Linked DNA regions of Homo sapiens: region 2 is linked to region 1. Evidence: promoter capture Hi-C in human tissues and cell types (Jung and others, 2019). All regions are on one chromosome and are shown on one strand. The core of a region is centred on a gene start or on the middle of the fragment in contact, and the rest is flanking DNA. Distances in the headings are between cores, read along the strand shown.

Region 1 (4,861 bases), core at 751-3,250:
GCTCCTCGAGCTCCCTGCGGGGCGGGGACAGGTGAGGGCGGGGCAGGTGAGGGCGGGGACAGGTGAGGGCGGGGGCGGGTGAGGGCGGGGACGGTGAGGGCGGGGATGGGTGAGGGCGGGGGCGGGTGAGGGCGGGGGCAGGTGAGGGCGGGGCAGGTGAGGGCGGGGCAGGTGAATGCAGGCCAGGTGCCCACCCAGAGCCACAGGCTGCCAAAGACGCTCACGGGCCTTAAACTAAAAAGGCAGGAACAGGCTCATGCCATTGTTAAGAACAAATCGGTAAGACTCGAGGGCTCTAAGTGGATAGTGGGTTATGGGTGACCAGGATTTTCTCCAACCCACATGACACAATAGACAAAGGCAAGGGAGGCCCTCTGGGTGCCCGTGCTCTTGCGCCAGGCCGTCACCTCATCCCAGAACTCACCAGGGCTCAGCTCCCAGGCTAGAACCACTGAGTCATCTCTGACCACATTCCAGTCCTCACCCTGTTCCACCCTACCCATTCCTGGGGCCACCCTGCAGCAGGCCCGTAGCACCCTGGTTTCTGCTGAGAGGAGCCCCTTGGCCTCACTAGGCCACTTGCCCAAATCCCAGTGCACTTTGGACATCCTGGGGTTGATCCCCAAGGACGGAGCAGTGCCCATACTTTGCCATGTGGCTGGGGCATGGGATGAGACAGCCAAGGCTCTGCTCAGGCACCTTCAGACACAAGTTCCCTCCCCAGGCGCCTCTGCCACATGGCCACACGGGGGTGTTCGAGGGGGACAGCAGATGGCACAGCTGAGTTGGGAAACAGCCTGCAGTTCCTCCAGCAGTCACCCAGAGACTCCACTCCTAGGCATATGCCCACGAGAAACAAAAACACATGTCCAGGACAAAACTTGCACATCTGTGTTCAGAGCAGCAGATGTGTTCATAGCAGCAGATGTGTTCAGAGCAGCAGCATACATCACAGCCCGAGAAATGGAAACCGACCACAGCAATATACATCACAGCTCAAGAGATGGAAACTGACCAGGTGTCCACCAACAGATGAATAACTGTGGCCTATCCATAAAATGGAGTATTTTCCAACATATAAAAACAAATGGTCCGGCCAGGTGCAGTGGCTCAAACCTGTGATCCCAACACTTTGGGAGGCCGAGGCGGGCGGATCACCTGAGGCTGGGAGTTTGAGATCAGCCTGACTAACATGAGAAACCCCATCTCTACTAAAAATATAAAATTAGGCGGGAGTGGTGGCGCCTGCCTGTAATCCCAGCTACTCCGGAGGCTGAGGCAGGAGAATCTCTTGAACCCCAGAGGTGGAGGTTGCAGTGAGCTGAGATAGCACCATTGCACTCCAGCATGGACGAGAATGAAACTCCGTCTCAAAAACAAAAAAAAACAAAAAAACACACAAATGAGGCCAGGCACAATGGCTCATGCCTATAATCCCAGCACTTTGGGAGGCCAAGATGGGTAGAGATCTCTTGAGCCCAGGGGTTCGAGACCAGCCTGGGGAACGTGGTGAAATTACCCAGGAGTGGTATGTGTGCTTGTCATCCCAGCCACTTGGGGGACTGAGGTGGAAAGATAGCTTGAGCCTGGAGTCAAGGCTGCAGTGAGCCAAGTTCGTGCCACTGCACTCCAGCCGTGGTGAAAAAGTGAGATGCTATCTCAGAGCAGGTCAGTGATGGCAGGTGGTAGAACATGCAGACACACAGATGTGGAAACAAAACACCTCTTCCTGATGCGAATTATTTGAGTATAGCATTGGCTGCTTCTGGGTGAGAACATCATAGAGGAGTTTTACTTTGTTTTATACATTTTCTGTCTCTTCCACTCTGAACGTACATATGTTTGGTTTGGTTTTTCTGAGACAGGGTCTCACTCTGTCACCCAGGCTGGAGTGCAGTGGTACGATCATAGCTACTGGAACCTCAACTTCCCAGGCTCAAGCGATCCTCCCGCCTCAGCCTCCTAAGTAGCTGGAATCACAGGGGTGGGCTAGTTTTTCTTTTCTTTTTTTTTTTTTTTTTTGAGATGGAGTCTCATTCTGTCACCCAGGCTGGAGTACAATGGTGCAATCTCGGCTCACTGCAACGTCCACCTCCCAGGTTGAAGTGATTCTCCTGCTTCAGCCTCCCATGTAGCTAGGATTACAGGCACCTGCCACCACGCCCAGCTAAATTTTTTGTAGTTTTGGTAGAGACGGGGTTCCACTATCTTGGCCAGCCTGGTCTCGAACTCCTGACCTCAGGTGATCTACCCACCTCAGGCTTCCAGAGTGCTAGGATTACAGGTATGAGCCACCGTGCCCGGCCTAAAAGTTTTCTTTTCTTTTTGAGACAGAGTCTTGCTCTGTCACCCAGACTGGAGTGCAGTGGTGTGATCTCAGCTAACTGCAACCTTCGCCTCCTGGGTTCAAGCAATTCTCCTGCCTCAGCCTCCTAAATGGGACTACAGGTGTGTGCCACCATGCCCGGCTAATTTTTTATATTTTTTAGTGGAGTCGGGGTTTCACCGTGTTAGCCAGGATGGTCTCGATCTCCTGACCTCGTGATCCCCACGCCTCGGCCTCCCAAAGTGCTGGGAGCCACCGTGCCCAGCCTAAAATTTCTTTATATTTTTGTAGAGACAAGGTTTCACTTTGTTGCCCAGGCTGGTCTGGAACTCCTGGGCTCAAGTGATCCTCCCATCTCAGCCTCCCAAATTGCTGGGATTACAGGCATGAGCCATCTTGCCCAGCCAGCATATATTTTATATAACAATAGTTTACTTTTTAAAAATCATGTAAACATAGGCTTGTGTTGATCAGGACAGAGGAAGGACAGAATCTGAATCTGCAGGTGCTAACTAGTGGCTTTTCTTCTCTGCTGAGTGGGTGGATGGTACTTCCTGGGAAATCCCTCATTTCTGATCACCAGCAAGTGAGGGAGCTGGCTCTGGAGCAGAGGGCAGATCTAGGCTGACATGAGCTGGTCAAGTCCAAGCTGTGGGCTGTGCTCCCCAGTCTGGCATTCCCCAGGGCTGAGAGAGTCAAACTTGCCTGATGCCATGTAGACCCTGCTCCAACAGAGGAAAAATCTCTGAGAGCTCCTTCCTTGTGGGGGACCACTTACTTTCCAGCCTGAATTCCTTCCCAGGTTGATGACAGCTTTATAAGAATTCGGTCCTTGCTGATCCCAGCTTCCTTGTAGAGCTCGATGAGCCGCCTGGCTCTGGCCACCATCGCATCTTTATCAAAGGAGAGCCTGTAGGAGCAAGAAGAACCCATCCCCTCAGATCACGCAGGTTGCCCACCACGCAGAGCAAGCTGGAGGCCGGGTGTCTGCCTGTCAGTTTTGAGCAGCACCACCGTGAGCACCAACCACTGCCCTCAACCTTCCCCTCACTGGAGGTTTGCAGAATGGCTCTGACAGCAACTCACACCCAGTCTCACAAACAGAGGTCCTCAGTGGGATCCATAGGCTATAATTTGTATTAAAAAACACTGGGCCAGGTGCCGTGGCTCACGCCTGTAATCCCAACACTTTGGGAGGCTGAGGCGGGAAGATCACAAGGTCAAGGGATCGAGACCATCCTGGCCAACATGGTGAAACCCTGTCGCTACTAAAAATACAAAAAAATTAGCTGGGTATGGTGGCGGGTGTCTGTAGTCCCAGCTACTTGGGAGGCTGAGGCAGGAGAATCGCTTGAACCCGGGAGGTGAAGGTTGCAGTGAGCTGAGATCACACCACTGCACTCTACACTGGCAACAGAGCGAGACTCTGTCTCAAAAAACAAACAAAACAAATCAAAACAAAAAACACTAGCAGCCGGGCACAGTGGCTCATGCCTGTGATCCCAGCACTTTGGGAGGCCGAGGCAGGTGGATCATGACGTCAGGAGTTCAAGACCAGCCTGGCCAAAATGGTCAAACCCCATCTCTATTAAAAATACAACAAATTAGCTGGGCATGGTGGCAGGTGCCTGTAATCTCAGCTACTTGGGAGGCTGAGGCAGAGAAACGCTTCAAGCCGGGAGACAGAGGTTGCAGTGAGCTGAGATTGCGCCACTGTACTCCAGCCTGGGTGACAGTGCGAGACTCCATCTCAAAAATAAATAAAAATAAAAATAAAAAACACTAGAGATCAGTTGCTAAACAAGGAGCTCTTGGTCATCACTACCAACTGTGGGAGAGCTCAAAATAAACCTCCTCTTGGGCCCTTGGGATGAAGACCATGGGTGGAGCAGCCCCTTGACCTCATGTTGGCATCCACGTGTGCAACTGTGGACACCTGACCAGCCCATCCAGTGCAGGAGCAAGCATCCTTACCTTGCGTCTACTTCTGTGGATACTCGGCCCGGAATCTTCTTTAGTATTTCTGCTCCAAACAACACAAAAAGTTTATCAATAGCATTTTTAATCTGGTCCTCTTGTGACCTGAAATTCAAAGGGAAAAAAAGCAGGTTAGAAGCTTCTGAGGTTCGCCAGGTGCGGTGGCTCACGCCTGTAATCCCAGCACTTTGGGAGGCCGAGGTGGGCGGATCATGAGGTCAGGAGATCAAGACCATCCTGGCTAACACGGTGAAACCCCGTCTCCACTAAAAATATTAAAAAATTAGCTGGGCATGGTGGCGGGTGCCTGTAGTCCTAGTTACTAGGGAGGCTGAGGCAGGAGAATGACGTGAACCTGGGAGGTGGAGCTTGCAGTGAGCAGAGATCGTGCCACTGCACTCCAGCCTGAGCGACAGAGCGAGACTCCATCTCAAGAAAAAAAAAAAGAAGCTTCTGAGGTTCAAGTGCACAAGACTCTACAAAATAAATTCTGTTATTTCTTTGCCAAATTTCCTTCCCTCCATCTTTTTTTTTCTCTTAAAACATTTTTTTATTGTG
Region 2 (2,526 bases), core at 1-2,500, 150 kb after region 1:
CCCCTGTCGTCATTAGCGCTTGAGCCCAGGTGTGCAGATGAGGCGGTGGGTCTGGCCACGCTGTCCCCACCCCAAGGCTGCAGCACTTCCCGTAAACCACCTGCAGTGCCCGCCGCCTTCCCGAGGCTCTGTGCCAGCTAGTCTGGGAAGTTCCTCTCCCGCTCTAACCACAGCCCGAGGGGGGCTCCCCTCCCCCGACCTGCACCGGAGATCTCAGGCACCCGGCTCATCTCAGACCTCCCGCTCCCGACCCTACACAGAGATTGCCTGGGGAGGCTGAGGAGCCGATGCAAACCCCCAAGGCGACGCACTTGGGAGCCGGTGGTCTCAAACACCTGCCGGGGGTCCTAGTCCCCTTCTGAAATCTACATGCTTGGGTTGGAGCGCAGCAGTAAACACCCTGCCCAGTGACCTGGACTGAGGCGCGCTGGGGGTGGGTGCGCCGTGTGGCCTGAGCAGGAGCCAGACCAGGAGGCCTAGGGGTGAGAGACACATTCCCCTCGCTGCTCCCAAAGCCAGAGCCCAGGCTGGGCGCCCATGCCCAGAACCATCAAGGGATCCCTTGCGGCTTGTCAGCACTTTCCCTAATGGAAATACACCATTAATTCCTTTCCAAATGTTTTAATTGTGAGAGTATCTGATATTCTTGACTGAACAATGTAAAAAACCCAAAGGGGGCTGCGCACGGCGGCTCTCGCCTAAATCCCAGCACTTTGGGAGGCCGAGGTGGGCAGATCACCTGAGGTCGGGAGTTCGACACCAGCCTGACCAACATAGAGAAACCCCGTCTCTACTAAAAATACAAAATTAGCCGGGCGTGGTGGTTCATGCCTGTAATCCCAGCTACTCGGGAGGCTTAGGTAGGAGAATCACTTGAACCCGGGAGGCGGAGGTTGTGGTGGGCCAAGATTGTGCCACCGCACTCCAGCCTGGGTAACAAAAGCGAAACTCCATCTCAAAAAAAGAAACGCAAACGGTGCAGCTGCCCCTTTTTCGAGGCACGTCCACCTCCCATTACCCACTTCCTTTTTTTTTTGAGACTGAGTCTTGCTCTGTCCCCTGGGCTGTAGTGGAGTGGCTCCATCTCGGCTCACTGCAGCCACTCCCAACGCCCTCCACTCCTCCCTACTCCGCGCTGGCCGGGGCGGGGTTCCGCTGGTCGCATCCAATAATAAGAACAGGCGGCGCGCGCCCTTCCCGGAAACTCCCGCCTGGCCACCATAAAAGCGCCGGCCCTCCGCTTCCCCGCGAGACGAAACTTCCCGTCCCGGCGGCTCTGGCACCCAGGTACTGGGGACCCCAGACCCACGCGGTGCAGGCCGGGAGCGAGAGCCTCCGTGGGGGCTCCGTGACCCCGGAGGGGTAGAGCCAAGAGCTGGGGGAGCCTGAGAGATGAGGGTCGGGCGGGGAGGGAGGCGGAGGCGGAGGCGGGGTTCCGCGGAGCTGAGAACCGGACGGGGTGGGATCGAGGAGGGTGCGAAGCGCCACTGTTTAGGTTTCGCTTTCCCGGGAGCCTGACCCGCCCCTGACGTCGCCTTTCCCGTCTCCGCAGGGTCCGGCCTGCGCCTTCCCGCCAGGCCTGGACACTGGTTCAACACCTGTGACTTCATGTGTGCGCGCCGGCCACACCTGCAGTCACACCTGTAGCCCCCTCTGCCAAGAGATCCATACCGAGGCAGCGTCGGTGGCTACAAGCCCTCAGTCCACACCTGTGGACACCTGTGACACCTGGCCACACGACCTGTGGCCGCGGCCTGGCGTCTGCTGCGACAGGAGCCCTTACCTCCCCTGTTATAACACCTGACCGCCACCTAACTGCCCCTGCAGAAGGAGCAATGGCCTTGGCTCCTGAGAGGTAAGAGCCCGGCCCACCCTCTCCAGATGCCAGTCCCCGAGCGCCCTGCAGCCGGCCCTGACTCTCCGCGGCCGGGCACCCGCAGGGCAGCCCCACGCGTGCTGTTCGGAGAGTGGCTCCTTGGAGAGATCAGCAGCGGCTGCTATGAGGGGCTGCAGTGGCTGGACGAGGCCCGCACCTGTTTCCGCGTGCCCTGGAAGCACTTCGCGCGCAAGGACCTGAGCGAGGCCGACGCGCGCATCTTCAAGGTGGGGACCCCAGCCCCGCCCCGCCCCGGGTGGGAGAGCCCGCCTAGGACCCCGCGGGCCCGGCACACGTGTTCTGTCCCCCTCTTCAGGCCTGGGCTGTGGCCCGCGGCAGGTGGCCGCCTAGCAGCAGGGGAGGTGGCCCGCCCCCCGAGGCTGAGACTGCGGAGCGCGCCGGCTGGAAAACCAACTTCCGCTGCGCACTGCGCAGCACGCGTCGCTTCGTGATGCTGCGGGATAACTCGGGGGACCCGGCCGACCCGCACAAGGTGTACGCGCTCAGCCGGGAGCTGTGCTGGCGAGGTGAGCGACGCCGGCTGCCAAGGGCGTTGGCATTCGTCCTGCTTGGGCAAAGGGGAACATTCTCTGGGTCAGATTTGTGGTTTTAGAAGCTGTTCTGGGAGAGGCTGCCAGCAGGCCCAGGAC

What was found. The method cuts DNA at HindIII sites, captures the fragments that hold promoters and counts their contacts. A contact is called where the count stands out against the background at its distance.
Region 2: the fragment with the promoter of IRF7 here is called in contact with a fragment that was not itself captured in region 1 in 3 of the 25 tissues and cell types used here (H1 embryonic stem cells, dorsolateral prefrontal cortex and spleen).

The regions. Positions count from the first base shown.
Region 1 is chr11:758,497-763,357 of GRCh38, reverse strand. It overlaps TALDO1 (transaldolase 1), which reads right to left. Exons shown (of 8, transcript NM_006755.2): 3 at 4,301-4,408; 4 at 3,105-3,236; 5 at 1-14. Among named protein-coding and RNA genes, the nearest start is that of TALDO1, 13 kb to the right of the region's middle. RefSeq lists an enhancer at 1-770. The HindIII fragment of the contact is 7,127 bases long and covers 1-4,861 here.
Region 2 is chr11:614,674-617,199 of GRCh38, reverse strand. IRF7 (interferon regulatory factor 7) reads left to right here and starts at 1,250. Exons shown (of 11, transcript NM_001572.5): 1 at 1,250-1,287; 2 at 1,553-1,855; 3 at 1,941-2,103; 4 at 2,193-2,403. The coding sequence starts at 1,836. It overlaps CDHR5 (cadherin related family member 5), which reads left to right. Exons shown (of 15, transcript NM_021924.5): 15 at 1-617. RefSeq lists an enhancer at 1,794-2,388. The HindIII fragment of the contact is 18,510 bases long and covers 1-2,526 here.